4 separate regions of the Homo sapiens genome follow, and regions 2, 3 and 4 are each linked to region 1. Evidence: promoter capture Hi-C in 16 types of primary human blood cells and fetal thymus (Javierre and others, 2016). All regions are on one chromosome and are shown on one strand. The core of a region is centred on a gene start or on the middle of the fragment in contact, and the rest is flanking DNA. Distances in the headings are between cores, read along the strand shown. Region 1 holds the start of CARD11 (caspase recruitment domain family member 11). Region 2 has its middle 90 kb from the start of CARD11. Region 3 holds the start of LOC100129603 (a long non-coding RNA gene). Region 4 overlaps CARD11 (caspase recruitment domain family member 11).

The links. Contacts are between HindIII fragments. The CHiCAGO score rates a contact against its expected background, and 5 or more counts as called.
Region 2: a contact is called between a fragment that was not itself captured here and the fragment with the promoter of CARD11 in region 1, in 1 of 17 cell types (total CD8 T cells). The highest score is 5.1, in total CD8 T cells.
Region 3: a contact is called between a fragment that was not itself captured here and the fragment with the promoter of CARD11 in region 1, in 2 of 17 cell types (total CD8 T cells and non-activated CD4 T cells). The highest score is 6.1, in total CD8 T cells.
Region 4: a contact is called between a fragment that was not itself captured here and the fragment with the promoter of CARD11 in region 1, in 4 of 17 cell types (total CD8 T cells, non-activated CD4 T cells, activated CD4 T cells and 1 more). The highest score is 7.7, in total CD8 T cells.

Annotation. Positions count from the first base shown.
Region 1 is chr7:3,042,109-3,045,581 of GRCh38, forward strand. CARD11 (caspase recruitment domain family member 11) reads right to left here and starts at 1,759. Exons shown (of 25, transcript NM_032415.7): 1 at 1,559-1,759. RefSeq lists a silencer at 1,472-1,821 and an enhancer at 1,687-1,981. The HindIII fragment of the contact is 15,618 bases long and covers 1-2,281 here.
Region 2 is chr7:3,132,128-3,136,031 of GRCh38, forward strand. No RefSeq gene overlaps it. Among named protein-coding and RNA genes, the nearest start is that of CARD11, 90 kb to the left of the region's middle. The HindIII fragment of the contact is 1,349 bases long and covers 1,866-3,214 here.
Region 3 is chr7:3,155,481-3,159,305 of GRCh38, forward strand. LOC100129603 (a long non-coding RNA gene) reads right to left here and starts at 3,093. Exons shown (of 4, transcript NR_126024.1): 1 at 3,011-3,093; 2 at 2,658-2,775. The HindIII fragment of the contact is 7,116 bases long and covers 1-3,825 here.
Region 4 is chr7:2,949,527-2,952,909 of GRCh38, forward strand. All of the region lies in intron 2 of CARD11 (caspase recruitment domain family member 11), which reads right to left. Among named protein-coding and RNA genes, the nearest start is that of CARD11-AS1, 7.2 kb to the left of the region's middle. The HindIII fragment of the contact is 6,187 bases long and covers 1-3,383 here.

The DNA of each region.
Region 1 (3,473 bases), core at 509-3,008:
AACGGGGAAGGGTGGCTGCCAGGGGCTACGGAGGGGGCCAGGAAGCTGCTGTTTAACGGGGGACACAGTTTCAGTTTGGGAAGAGCTGGATGGTGGTGATGGCCGCAAGATAACATGGACGGGCTTAACAGCACTCAACTCTGCGCTTCAAAGTGGTTCAGCGAGCTCATTTTATGTCACATGTATTTCACCACGATTTTTAAAAAAATCACATCAAGGACCATTCATGCATTAACAGAAGACTGCTGGGGCCAGTGGAGCCACGGCCTGCCTATCTGATACCCAGGCAAGTAACATCCACACGGGTCCAAGCATTCCCTGGCCTTGAATTACGCTGAGTCCTGGTCACTGTTGCGCTCCTCAGGGCAGCCCTGGCCTGAGGCAGGGGTGTCATCTCTTTACAGATGCCTTGCTGGGGAGAGAACCGGAGTTTCCGCGAAAGCGCAGAAGTGGACACTTACGGAGAAATTCCTGTCCTCATATCAATTCCCGGCTCCCGGGATTTCCGGCACGCATTATGCACAGGCTGAGCGCTCAATAAATGTGGAATGAACGATCGACTATTTTTCTCCCCTTTCTGGTAGGTTGGTAACCTTATACCTTCAAGACGAGTCATAAATATTAGGAGAAAATGTTTTGAACTACAAATCAAAGGCTTTGAGAGCAGGCCAGGCAGAGAGAGGTCAGTTTGGTCCAAGACCAAGTTTGTGTGGGCAGCCCCGAAGCTCACAGCTGAGACCACTGTCCATGAACCTGGGTCCCCGTGACAGCCTCCAGCGGTGCTCAGAGCCCCCGAGGGACAGAAACACCCTCTCTGCCCCTATCTGCAGAGGGGGCTCAGCAGAAGGCCTGGTGGCCCCATCGGGCCTGGAGGGGCCTCCTGGGGGAGGTGGCTTTCAGGCCTGAGGCCGCTAGGACCTGCTCCGGGTTTCAGTCGGGAACCTGGGCCCTCTCCTGTGCCCCCGCCACCCCCTTTCTAGTACAGTCCCCGCGGGGGGCTGTCCTCTCCCATCTCCCAGCTCCACACCCACTTTTGGTGCGGCTGCCCTTCCTCCCTGAGCCAGGCCCCACCTTCCCAGGAGCCTCTGAGTCAGGCTGGGCTGTGGTCTGCAAACTTCCGGGCCTTTCAGGTGTCAGAAAAGTTTCTCTTCCTCCCTCTGGGGCAGGTGCACCAAGGGGCTGCAGCCTCCTGACCCCCGATTTTTTCCTGTCCAGTAGGAGGAGGTGGGGGCTTTGCTGGGCGGTGATACTCAGAGACGCTCAAAGAGACACGGAGGAGAGGCACACGAGGTGGAAAGTGAGGGAGAAAAAGGGTTGGAAGGGAAAAAGGGGAGAGGAGAGTGAGAGAGAGAAGGGGGGCAGGGGGACAGAGATGGAGAGGGAAGGATACCCCCAGCATCGCGGGACCAGCGGGAGCCACTCCCATCCCCCGACGCCCCCCCCGCCACCGTGTCATCTCACTGATGCCCCCCATCTCCTCCCCGTGCCCTCTTCTCTTCCCCCAACTCCCCGCCTCGTGCTCCCCCTCCGCCAGCTCCCCCATCCCCGCTGCGCCTACCTGGGGCGCTCATGCTCCGCCAGCCAGCTGCGCGGGGCGCCTCCTCCACGCAGGCCTCCGGCTTCCTCCAGGCGACCAGGCCCTCCGTCCCCCCGGGCCCGGAGCCGTCCTCCGAGGGGCGCCGCCCGCCCAGGGGCTGCAGGGCCGGGAGGGGGCTGCGGGCGGCGCGGGCAGGAGTCCGAAGGCCAGAGGAGGCAGGAGAGAAAAAAGGAGAGAAAGTATGTCATAGGCTGGGAGGGGCGGGGGAGGGAAATGCAAAACCCGACAGGAAATGAGACTAAAAAATGCGAAAGGTTAGAAAAAGATAAGGAAGAGAGGGAGGGGGCGGAGTCGGTGCTTCGGGAGGAGGGCGGCAAGGAGGTGGGGGTGGGAGTGGGGACAGGGCCGGGGGTGGGGGTGCTTGGGGACAGATCAGGGAGCCGGAGATGGGGAGACCAAGGCGAGTCTCAGGGCCCAGCCCACCTGCATCAGTCGGGGTGAGGCTGGACCAGTCTGGGCATCAGTCCCCACCCAGCCGTGACCCCCGGCAGAGTCCAGGTGGGGCCTTGGGAGGGGCTCTCTCCCTTCTAGGTTCTCCAGGGCACTGGCTCCCGAGATCTAGCTGAATTTCTGAAGAAATTCCAGAGCCTGTCACTGCAATGGGAGGGGAACGGGGTGCCCCACATCAAATCCTGCAGCCTCCTACACCCCAAGCCTCTTTCCTCCCTCAGCCCCTGTTCTGGAAGCTTCCTGGGCATGCCGGGTGGTCAGCACCCCTTCAAAGGCCTTCCTCACCCCGACAGCTTTGGGGTCCAAGACACCCACCATCAGCTTGTGCCCTCGATGTTCCGGTGAAGTATACTTGTAAGAGAAACTGTGATTTGGATGTCATCATTTTACTTTATTTTTATTTTTTGAGATGGAGTCTCGCTCTGTCACCCAGGCTGGAGTGCAGTGGCACAATCTCAGCTCACTGCAAGCTCCACCTCCTGGGTTCAAGCGATTCTCCCACCTCAGCCTCCCGAGTAGCTGGGACCACAGGCGTGCACCACCAAACTTGGCTAATTTTTGTATTTTTAGTAGAAATGGGGTTTCAACATGATGGCCAGGCTGGCCTCGAACTCCTGACCTCAAGTGATATGCCCACCTCAGCCTCCCAAAGTGCTGGGATTACAGGCATGAGCCTCTGCGCCCAGCTGGATGTCATCATTTTAATAATTTACCCCAAATGGCCATCGTCATGGGTGGGATGGTCCCAAGGGTTTACATGGATTGCAGACTCAAAAATCTGGATGAAAGAAAATGTGATACACACACACACGCCATGCAATACTACTCAGCCATAAAAAAGAACGAAATAAAGTATTTTGCAGCAACTTGGATGGAACTGGAGGCCATTATCCTAAGTGAAGTAACTCAGGAGTGGAAAACCAAATACTACATGTTCTTATTTAAAAGCGAGAGCTAAGCTATGGGTAGGCAAAGGCAGGCAGAGTGGGATCATGGACGTTGGAGACTCAGAAGGGGGAAGAATGGGAGGGGGTAGGGGATGAAAAATCACCTATTGGGTACAATGTATACTGTACAATGTGCACTATTCCAGTGACTGATGCACTAAAAGCCCAGACTTCACCACTATACGCTTCATCCACGTAACCCAAAACCGCAAGTACCCCTAAAGCTATTGAAATAAAAATCTGGATGAGCCATGCCTACCCAGAAAACCTTAGTTTCTATTCTCTTGCTGCAATTGCACTGCCTCCTGCACCGCCCGCCCCCCCGTTGCCCCAGCCTCTGCACCTCTCATTCTACTCTGCCTCAGTTTACCATTCTCCTCTCATCTATCTCCCTCTCTTTTGATCCCCTCATTATGGCTAGAGAATGTAGGCTTCTGTTTCATGTTTTAAGTGTTCTGAGAAAAGTTCCTCGAGCTGCT
Region 2 (3,904 bases), core at 1,290-3,789, 91 kb after region 1:
AAACCTACGGAACCATTTTACATTTTCACCAACAATGGACAAGAGTTCTGATTCCTGCACATCCTTACCTATATTTAGTTATCATCTGATTTTCAAAAATTATAGCCACTTACTAGGTACATAATAATATCTCACTGTGGCTTTAATTTGCATTTCCCTAATGACTAATAACGGTGAGGTTTTTTTTTTTTTTTTTTTTTTTTTTTTTTTTTTTTTTTTTTTTTTTTCCTGGGACAGAACTTTGCTCTATCCCCAGGCTGGAGTACAATGGTGTGATCTCGGCACACTGCAACTTCCGCCTCCCAGGTTCAAGTGATTCTCCTGCCTCAGCCTCCTGCGTAGCTGGGATTACAGGTGCCCACCCCCCTGCCTGGCTAATTTTTGTATTTTTTTGTAGAGATGGAGTTTTGCCATGTTGGGCAGGCTGGTGCTTTTTAGTCATTTGTATAGATTGGATATCATATACACACACGAAAAAGTTAGGCCCTTAACTCACACCAAAAATAAAAATTATCTCAAAGTGAATCACAGACCTAAATGTAAGAGCTACAGTTATAAAACTTCTAGGAGAAACTTTAGTGAAATGTTTGTTCAAGTCTTTTGCTTATTTTTTATTTGGGTTGTTTGTCTTATTATCAGTTGCAAGAGTTCTTTATATATTCTGGGTACAAGTTCTTCATCAGATACATGACTGGTACATATTTTCTCCCAGTCTGTAGCTTGTTCTTTCATTTTCTTCAAGGTGTCTTTTAAAGCTTTTAATTTGAAATTAAAATGACATCCACTTTATAATTGGCTCATACTTTTGGTGTAATGTCTAAGAACTCTTTGCTTAACCCAAAGCCATGAAGATTTTCTCTTGTTGGTTTCTCCTAGAAATTTTTTAATTGTAGCTCTTACATTTAGGTCTGTGATACATTTTGAGATAATTTTTATTTTTGGTGTGAGTTAAGGGCCTAACATTCTTTTGTGTGTGTGTGTTTAGTATATGATATCCAACTGTTACAATGCCATGTTTGAAAAGAGTATCCCACCCCATTCCATTGTCTTGACATCATTATCAATTGTTTTGACATCATTGTCAAAAATCCGTTGGCCATATACATAAGCGCTTATTTCTTGGCTTTCACTTCTGTACCATTATCAATATATGCCTATCCTTACTCCAATGCCACACGGTCTTGATTACTGTAGCTTTAGAGTAAGCTTTGAAATTGGGTAGGATAAGTCCTCCAGCTTTGTTTTTCTTTCCCCAAATTGTTTCAGCAATTGTATGTCTTTTGCATTTCTGCATTCATTTTAGAACCAGCTTGTCACTTTCTTCAAAAAATCCTGCTGGGACTTTAACAGGGATTACATTGCATCTATAGATCAATTTGATCTATGGATTGACATCTTAATAATATTTAATCTTCCAATCCATTAACATGGAATATCTCTCCATTTATATTTTCTCTCATTTCTCTAAGCAATCCTTTATAATGCTCAGTGTACCAATTTTTCATTTTTCTTGTTAAATTTATTCCAAACTGTTTATTTTTGATGCTATTGTGAATGAACTTTAAAAAATTCATTCTCAAATTGTTCATGACTAGTATAGAAAATTCCATTAATTTCTATATATTGATCTTGTATCCTGCAAAGTTGCTAAATTTACTAGTTGTAGGAGGATTTTTTTTTTTGGTGGATTCCTTAAGATTTTCTACATATAGGATGATGCCATCTGTGACTAAAAAAGTTTTACTTCTTTCTTTCCAATCTGGATGTCTTTATTTTATATATTTTTAGCTTTATTTTACTGGCTCGAATCTTCAGTAAATTCCCGAATGGAAGTGGTGAGAATGAATGTCTTTGCTTCATTTCCAAGCTTTGGGAAAAGCATTCAGTCTTTCACCATTAAGTATAACGTTAGCTGTGGGTTTTCTGTGGTGCACTTCATCAAGTTGAGGAAGTTCCCTCTTATTCCTAGTTTGTGGATGGTTTTTGTCATGAATGGGTGTTGGATTTTGTCGATTGCTTTTTTTGTGTCTACTAATTCACTATCTGAACGTGCCATCTGTTTCCTGCCAGGACCCTAAAAAATAAAAAATGCTCGCTGCAAAGTGAAAATTTATGTGATGAAGGTGGATTCCCTAGTCCCTACTCAATGAATTATTGCACTGACTTGATGCCCATTCTCTCAGCTTTTTAGCTTCAAGAGATTTGGTTTTAAAATATATCCACTAGGCCGGGCACTGTGGCTAACGCCTGTAATCCTAGCACTTTGGGAGGCCGAGGTGGGTGGACTGCCTGAGCTCAAGAGTTCGAGACCAGCCTGGACAACACAGTGAAACCCTGTCTCTACTAAAATACAAAAAATTATCTGGGCCTGGCAGCGCATGCCTGTAATCCCAGCTACTCGGGTGGCTGACGCAGGAGAACCCCTTGAATCCGGGAGGCGGAAGTTGTAGTGAGCCGATATTGTGCCACTGCACTCCAGCCTGGGCGTCTCCAAAAAAAACATATCTATATATCTATATATATCTCCACTAGTAATTTGATACTCCTTCCTTCCAAAATGGAGCCTAATTCTCCTCCTTCTGAGTGTGAACTAGACTCAGTGAATTGCTTCTAGGGAACAGAATATGGCAGAAATGATGGCGTATGGTTTCTGAGACTAGGTGATAGGAGGCGTTGTGGTTTCTACCTCATGATTCACTCTGAGAGAAACCAGCCGCCATGTTGTGACATCACTCAAGGAGCTCCATGGGAAGTTCCACCAAGTGAAGCCTCTGTGACTGAGTCACTTTGGAAGAGAATCCTCAAGTCTTCTGACTGTAGCCCCAGCCAACATCTGACTGCAAACCCATGATACAAATCCAGCCAGAACCACCCAGTTAAACTGCTCCTGAATTCCTGACCCCCGGGAACCACAAGGTAATAAACGACTATTGTTCTAAGCCACTGTGTGTTGGAGTGATTTGTTATGCAGCGTTTGACAATACAAAAGACATTGCCACCTTCTCTCAGAATTTGTTAAGCTCTAAAAATGACAAAGATGGGTCTGAAGGAACAAGGATTTCTGGACCTGGAGGCTCTTTCAGAAGTTAGATCCCATGAGGATGGGGCATTGCTCTAAGAAGAGGTTGGTGAGCATTGTATGTGAAAACACTTCGTAGGTGATAAATACGGCATAAACACATTATTGTTACTGGAAGGTTTGTTATAGCCTTCAAGCTTACACTCGATGTCATCTTAGCCGGCATCCTTCTTTCTATCCCAACACATCAGGTCTTTGATAATTTGTGTTCTTCTAAGAAAGGACCCCCAGGGTCCTGCCCTCCCAGGACCGACATGCTGACCAGGCACTTGATGTGGACATGTCAGACCACCCACATTCTACTTCCTTCAGTTGCTTTTTCTAGAATGCCAGCCAGGAGGGACGGGTACACTCTGAATTTTGATCTCATGTGGGTGGGTGATCTGCTTTCTAATTAAAGTTCCCTGCCCGGCCCCTTCTGCGGAACGTTTCACCCAGGAGAAAAGACCTGAAGCAATTGTGTCAAAGGGTAGGAAAGCATTTACACAGCAAGGGAGATCTTGCTTAGCAATTGGGGGAGAAAGAGAGAGAAAGATTTGCCTCCAGCTGCCATTCTGAACTGTACCGTTTGTACAAAGTGGAACGTAAGTTTCTGTTTTCTGAAAAGGGGACAAGTTGCTATTGATAAAGCAGGAGGTCACATCCATCTCCATTTGCATACAAATTACTTTCTCATCTACTTTCCAAGGGGGAGAAAGAGCTGCTTTATCGTTCTCAGAGGGAGCAAACTCTCCACGGGTTGCCTTGTATATTTGTCAGAACTTTTTGGATGCAAGTGACAGACACTCAACCCAACCCTGAGTAGCTTATGCAAAACTGGTAACT
Region 3 (3,825 bases), core at 733-3,232, 110 kb after region 1:
TGGGGCACAGGGCAAGACCCTGTCTCAATAATAATAATAATAATAATAATAATAATAATAATAATAATTCAAGATTGTGCAAGCTGTGGCTAGCTCTATAGGACAAATAATCCAATTTTTTCATTAAGTGAATTGTAAGGAAAAGAGGGAAAGGGTAATAGGTTAAAGAAGGCAGAGACCCAACAGCCCATCGCAACATACGGATCTGATTTAGATCCCCAGGCAGATGTTAGAATAATACAAGAAAAAATATCTATGAGACAAATTAGGGAACTTTGAACACTGCACATTTGATTAAGGAATTATTGTGAATATCTTTAGCTGTGATACTGGTATCGTATTTATGTTTTTGAGAGATGCCTACTGAAATATTTACATGTTAAGTGATACTGGTATCGTATTTATGTTTTTGAGAGATGCCTACTGAAATATTTACATGTTAAGTGACAGAATGACTGAAATCTGCTTCAAAAGATTCCAGGGCTCATCTAAAGTGGGTAGAGGAACAGATGAAATGAGATTGGCCCTGAATTGAAAATTATTAGGGCTGCGCGTGGTGGCTCATGCTTGTAATCCCAGCAGTTTGGGAGGTCAAGACCAGAGGATCACCTGAGCCCAGGAGTTCCAGACCAGCCTGGGCAACACAGTGAGACCCTGCCTGTACTAAAAATAATTTAAAAAAAATTAACCAGGTGTGACGGCTCGTGCCTGTAGTCTCAGCTACTGGTGGGGCTGAGGCAAGAAGATCATTTGACTATGGAAGTCTAGGAGGTCGAGGCTGCAGTGAGCCCTGATCATACCACTGCACTCCAGCCAGGGGAAAAAGTGAGACCCTGTCTCAAAAATTAAAAAAATAAAGCACTACATTTCCTTTCTAGAAACACACACACAGGCAGATGTGTTCCATGAATCCCAATAACTGGGACAAGGAGAGGCGGGATGTCTGCAGTGTGGGATGATTCTGGGCCTCTGAATGACACTGAGCGGTCTGGGTGGAAATCCGCAGATTTTCCATCTTCCAGGGCAGAAGTCGGCATGCTTTCTGTAAAGGACTGGACCGTGAATATTTTAGGTCTTTTGGGCCATATCATCTCGGTCACAACTACTCATGCTGGTTGCACGACAGGGGCCAAAGACAATATATGAAGAAATGGGTGTGTCCCTGTTCCGACAAAACTTTATTTACAAAAACAGGCAGCAGACCGCATTTGCCCTGAGGTGGCAGTTTGACCAGCCCTGTCCTGTTGCTGGACAGAAGAACTTTCTGTGATGACGGAAATGTTATTTCTGTGCCATCCAGTATAGGAGCCATTAGTCACACGCAGTTACTGAGCACTTTGGATGGGGCTAGTCGGACTGAGGAACTAGTTTTTAATTTTTATTTAGCTTAAATTAGTTTAACTTTAAAAAGTCACATGGAGTTAGTTGCTACCACGTTAGACAGCACAGTTCTAGAGAGCCCAGCCCAGCAACTAAAAAGGAGGAGAGGCTGGGTGCGGTGGCTCACGCTTGTAATCTCAGCACTTTGAGAGGCTGAGGCAGCAGGATTGCTTGAGGACAGGAGTTTTAGACCAGCTTGGGCAACACAGCGAGACACCGACTCTATAAAAAAAATTTAAAAATTGGAGAAGTGTAGTGGTGTGAGCCTGTAGTCCCAGCTACTCAGGAAGCTGAGGTGGGAGGACTGATTGAGCCCAGGAGTTCCAGAGGAGCCTGGGCAACACAGTGAGACCCTGTCTCTACAAAAAGTACAAAAATTAGCCATGCGTGGTAGCATGCACCTGTAGTCCTAGCTACTCTGGAGGGTGAGATGGGAGGATCACTTGAGCCTGAGAGACGGAGGTTGCAGTGAGCCAAGTCTGTGCCACTGCCCAGTGAGCCTGGGCAACACAGTGACACCCTGTCTCAAAAAAAACAAAAAGAGGAAGAGGAGATGCAGCCCAGGGAGAAGAACTGATTTGTCTAAGACGTGGCTCCAACCTTTGGGTTCATGCTTCTCCCTGCGCCACGGTATGAAGTTGCCTGAACTCCAGAACCACTAAGCAATGAGGCAGGTGACCTGGGCTCTGATCCTCAGGCTGGGACCTGGGGAAAGCCATTCACCTTTAGTGTTCTGCTGTGTCTCCATGTGTACGAGGACCACACCCCAACCTCCTCGTCCATTCACCTGTGGGGGCCACCAGGGGGATCACAGGAGACAATGTAGGCAGAGGCCCTTTGAAAACTTCAAAGCGCCCCGGGAGTTTCCGGATGTTCTGCATTAATTTATCTAATCCAAGGTAGGAAAGTGAAACGTGGGCTATGAAAGACAGGAGGGAAGTCGGGTGATTCATCGCTCGGCTGGAACTCTCGCGGGTTAAATCTCTGTTTCAGTGAATTTCCTGGGGAGAATTCAGGGCCGTGTTCCAGCTAACAAATTCATCCCTTTGCTTTGACTCTGAACCATATTCTGGGACGGCATCAAAGCCAGCCTCCCAAGAGTCGCTTGGGGACTGTCTGGGCCCCGAGCTCTCCGACCCTCCTGCCTCCACTCTGCAGATGCTCCTGCTCCCATCTCCCCAGCACAGACCCCACCACAGCCTCCTGCCTGGCCCCATCTGCCATCCCTGCGGCTGAGCCCGACTGAGAGTGAAGTCCTTCATTAAATCAGTGCCTACCTCGTCCTGCGGATGGAGGTCATTCTCAGCCTCATTCCCCTTGCCAGAGAAGGATGTGGGGGGAGGCAGGCAGGGCAAAGGCAGGGAGACATCCTCTGGTCCAGAATTGATTCCTCTTCTGAAAGAAAGAAAAGCAAAGATGTCCCTAAAGGGGACATTAAAACTCTCAACAAGACCCTCAGGCTGGGAGTCTTCTTCCCAAGGCCAGGGTCAGGCCTGAGAGGTGTTCTCAAAGACCCGGAGTGAAATCCTCTTCCTAGACAAAGATGATTCCAAGGATGATTCCAAGTGGGAAGGGGAGAGAGGGGCCTTGCACGAGGCAAGTAACTAGGCCTGTGGGAGCAAGTTCGTACCGTCTACCCTCTGTCAAACTCTGTACTTGAAACGGTTCATGTTTTTTAAAAGGATGGGCGTTTTAAATCCCTCCATTCCGCTCTGCCCCGTGATGTAATTTAGAAATCACGAGAGCTCTCAAAAAAAAAAAAAAAAAAAAAAAAAACAAAAACCAGCGAGATGTGCTCACAGACCTTGGTCCGCAAATGTTTTTGCCAGATGCTGAGAACCTAGGCAGAATCCAGAGCAGCTTTTATAGAGGATTTGATGTTTAACTCATCATGGAGAGGTCCCTGATCTCTCCCTGGAGAAAAAGGAAGTCGATGGGGTCGTTTGTACGGCGAAAACTACAGCATGATGTTGGAGGGATCAGGGAGCCTCCTTCAAGGGTTTAGGGGGCTCTGGGTCAGGGCCTTTCTGGACGGTTCTTCCCTTGGGAATAGGAAGCCAGGATCACAGAGGGGAAGGGTCCAGCCCAGATTTGGAGCTGGATACCCTAGTGGGTATCCCTTAAACAGGAGCAGGTGAGCCTGTGTTACAGGACCCGATCTGGACCCCAAGAGAGGGTTCTTGGATCTTATGCAAGAAAGAATTCAGGGCGAGTCCATAGAGTAAAGAGAAATCAAGTTTATTAGGAAAGGAAAGGAATAAAAGAAGGGCTACTCCACAGACACAGCAGCCCCAAGGGCTGCTGGTTGCCCATTTTTGTGGTTATTTCTTGATGATATGCTAAAGGAGGGGTGGATTATTCATGCCTCTCCCTTTTAGACCATATAGGGAACTTCCTGACGTTGCCATGGCATTTGTAAACTGTCATGATGCTGGTGGGAGCGTA
Region 4 (3,383 bases), core at 127-2,626, 93 kb before region 1:
TGAAAAGACTACTCTTTCCCCATTGAATGATCTTGCTACCCTTGTTGACAATCAACTGACCATAAAAGTAAACATTTGTTTTTGCACTATTGATTCTATTCCATTGATCTATATGTGTATCCTTATGCCAGTACTACATTGTCTTGATTACCGAAGATTTGTAGATTTGTAGTAGGCCTTGAAATTGGGAGTATGGGTCTCCCAACCTTGTTCTTTTTCAAGATTGTTTTGGCTATTAGGTGCCTTTTACCTAATTTTAGGATTAGGATGTCAATTTCTGCAAAAAAGGCAGTTGGCATTTTGGTAGTGAATCTGCTGAATATGTAGATCAATTTGGAGAGTACTGCTACCTAACAATATTAAATCTTCTGATCTATGAACAGGGGGATGTCTTTCTTTAAATCTTCTTTAATTTCTTTCAGCAATGTTTCATAGTTCTCAGTGTACAAGTCTTGCACTTCTTTTGTTAAATATATTCCTAAGTATTTCATTAATTTGATGACATTATAAATGGGAGTTTTTTTCTTAATTTCATTTGTGGGATATTCATTGCTGGTCTATAGATATATAATTTATTTTTGTATATTGACCTTGTATTCTGCAACCTTGTGAAATCATTTATTAGTTCTGTTAGTTTGTTAGAGACATCTTATGATAGCCTATATATAAGATCATGTCATTTGCAGATAAAGGTAGTTTTACTTCTGTTTTTCCAATCTGGGTGCCTTTTATTTCTCTTCTTTGCCTAATTGCTCTGGCTAAAATACCTCCAGTACAATGTTAGATAGAAATGTTAACAGCAGGAATCCTTGCTTTGTTACTGATGTTAGCGGACAGCATCCAATCTTTCACTGTCAAGTATGACATTAGCTGTAGGCTTTTGCTTTTGTTTTTAAGATAGATGTCCTTTATCAGGTTGAGGAAGTTTTCTTACCTTCTTGGTTTATTGAATGTTTTTATCCTGAAAGGGTTGTCGATTTTGTCAGATGCTTTTTCTGCATTTATTGAGGCTGCCATGTGGTTTTTGTTTTTTATTGTATTGATAGGGTTACACTACCTGACTTTCAGATGTTAAACCAACCTTGTATTCCTGGCATAAATCCCACACAGTCAGGGTGTATAATTCTTTTTATATGTTGCTTTTTATATGTTGCTGGATTTAACTTGTTTTTTAAAATAGGATTTTTGCATTCATATTCATAAGAGATATTGGTCTGTAGTTTTCTTTTCCTGTGATGTCATTGTCTGGTTTTGATATTGGCCTCAGAATGATTTAGGAAGTGTTTCTTCCTCTTCTGCTTTTTGGAAGAGGCTTTTAAGAATTGATATTAATTTTTCTTTTGTTTGGTAGAACTTACAAGTAAAGACATCTGGGCATGGGTTTTTCTTTGTGGATTATTTTTACAAATTCAGCCTCCTTACTTATTACAGGTCTGTTCATATTTTCTGTTTGTCTTGAGCCAGTTTCAGTAGTTTGTGTCTTTCTAGGAATTTGTCCATTATATCTAAGTTATCTAATTTATTGGCAGCAATTGCTCACAGTTCCCTTCATAATTCTTTTTATCTCTATAAGTTCAGTTATAATTTCCCCCCTTTCATTTCTGATTCTAGTAATTTGCATCTTCTCTCTTATTTTGTCGATATATCAAAGAACCAACTTTTGGTTTCATTAATTCTCTGTATTCCTTTTCTATTCTCAGGTTCATTTGCTTCTGCCCTAGTCCTGATTATTTCCTTTCTTTTCCTTGCTTTAGGTTTAGTTAGCTCTTCTTTTTCTACTTTTGCAAGGGAGGAGGTAAAACTGCCTTTGCAAAAGTTATAACAGAAAATTCTGACAGTGAAAGAGATCTGACCTAACCAATTCCATCTTGCTTCTAACCTCCAAGCAGTCCTCGTTCATTCCTGGGCAGAGGCCAAACTAACTTTGGGAGGAACTTAGTTCATAGATTAATGTATTATTCTGCTGCTGTCAGATGGAGTGGACTACAGATGTCTGTTAGGTCTAGTTTTTTTTTTTTTTTTTTTTTTTTTTTTTTTTTTGATAAAGAGCCTCCCTCTGTCACCAAGGCTGGAGTGCAGTGGTGCAATCTTGGCTTACTCCAACTTCTGCTTCCTGGGTTCCAGCCAGCATGTCTGGCTAATTTTTGTATTTTTAGTAGAGACAGGGTTTTGCCATGTTGGCCAGGCTGGTCTCGAATTCCTGACCTCAAGTGATCCACCTGCTTTGGCCTCCCAAAATGCTGGGATTACAGGTGTAAGCCACCACGCCCAGCCAGGTCTGGTTTGTTTATAGTGTTGTACAAGTTTCTTATTTGTTGATCTTCTGCCTAGTTGTTCTATCCATTATTCAAAGTAAAGTAATAACGTCTTCAACTCTTTTTTTTGAGACAGAATCTCACTCTGTTGCCCAGGCTGGAGTGCAATGGCGTGATCTCAGTTCACCGCAACCTCTGCCTGCCGGGTTCAAGTGATTCTCCTGCCTCAGCCTCCTGAGTAGCTGGGATTACAGGCACCTGTCACCATGCTTGGCTAATTTTGTATTTTTAGTAGAGACGGGGTTTCTCCATGTTGGCCAGGCTGGTCTCGAACTCCTGACCTCAGGTGATCTGCCTGCCTCGGCCTCCCAAAGTGCTGGGACTACAGGCATGAGCCACTGCGCCTGGCCAACGTCTTCAACTCTTATTGTTGAATTGTGTATCTCTCCCTCCAGCTCTGTCCATCTTTGCTTCATGTATCTGGGGCTCTGATAGGTGCATATGCTTATAACTCTTATAGCTTCTCAGTGGATTGACCATTTTATCATTATGAGATGTTCTTCTTTAGCCACAGCCAAATTCCTGGACCTGGGGATTTCACAGTGGTGGGATGGGTGAGTGTGCTGGGGGCAATTGAGCTAGAAGGTGGCATTGGTGTAGCCATGGAGGTTGGAGCTCAGCCAGGGTGAGGAGACATGCAGGCAGGTCAAGGCTATGAGGGCAGAGAAGAAACCAGCAAGCAGAGGAAGCTGGTCTACCGAGTGGTGCCATGGTGAGCCCATGAGGTTCCATGAGAAGCGGATGGCCGGGGTCATCTCTCTTGCTGCATAACTCAGTTCCCAACCTCATGAGCCTTGGCCTTCTGTGGTGTCTGGTCCTTGTTGTAGGCTTTCAGTATCCTTCCACCTTCCCCGTTAATTTGAGCTATTAAATTTGTTTTAAAAATTATCATTTTTAGAGACAGGGTTTTGCTCTGCCACCCAGGCTGGAATGCAGTGGGGCAATCCTAGCTCATGGCAGCCTCAAACTCCTGGGCTCAAGCAATCCTCCCACCTCAGCCTCCTGAGTGGTTAGGACTACAGGTGTGTGCCTCCACCCCTGGCTGTTTTGAACATTTTTTGTAGAGAC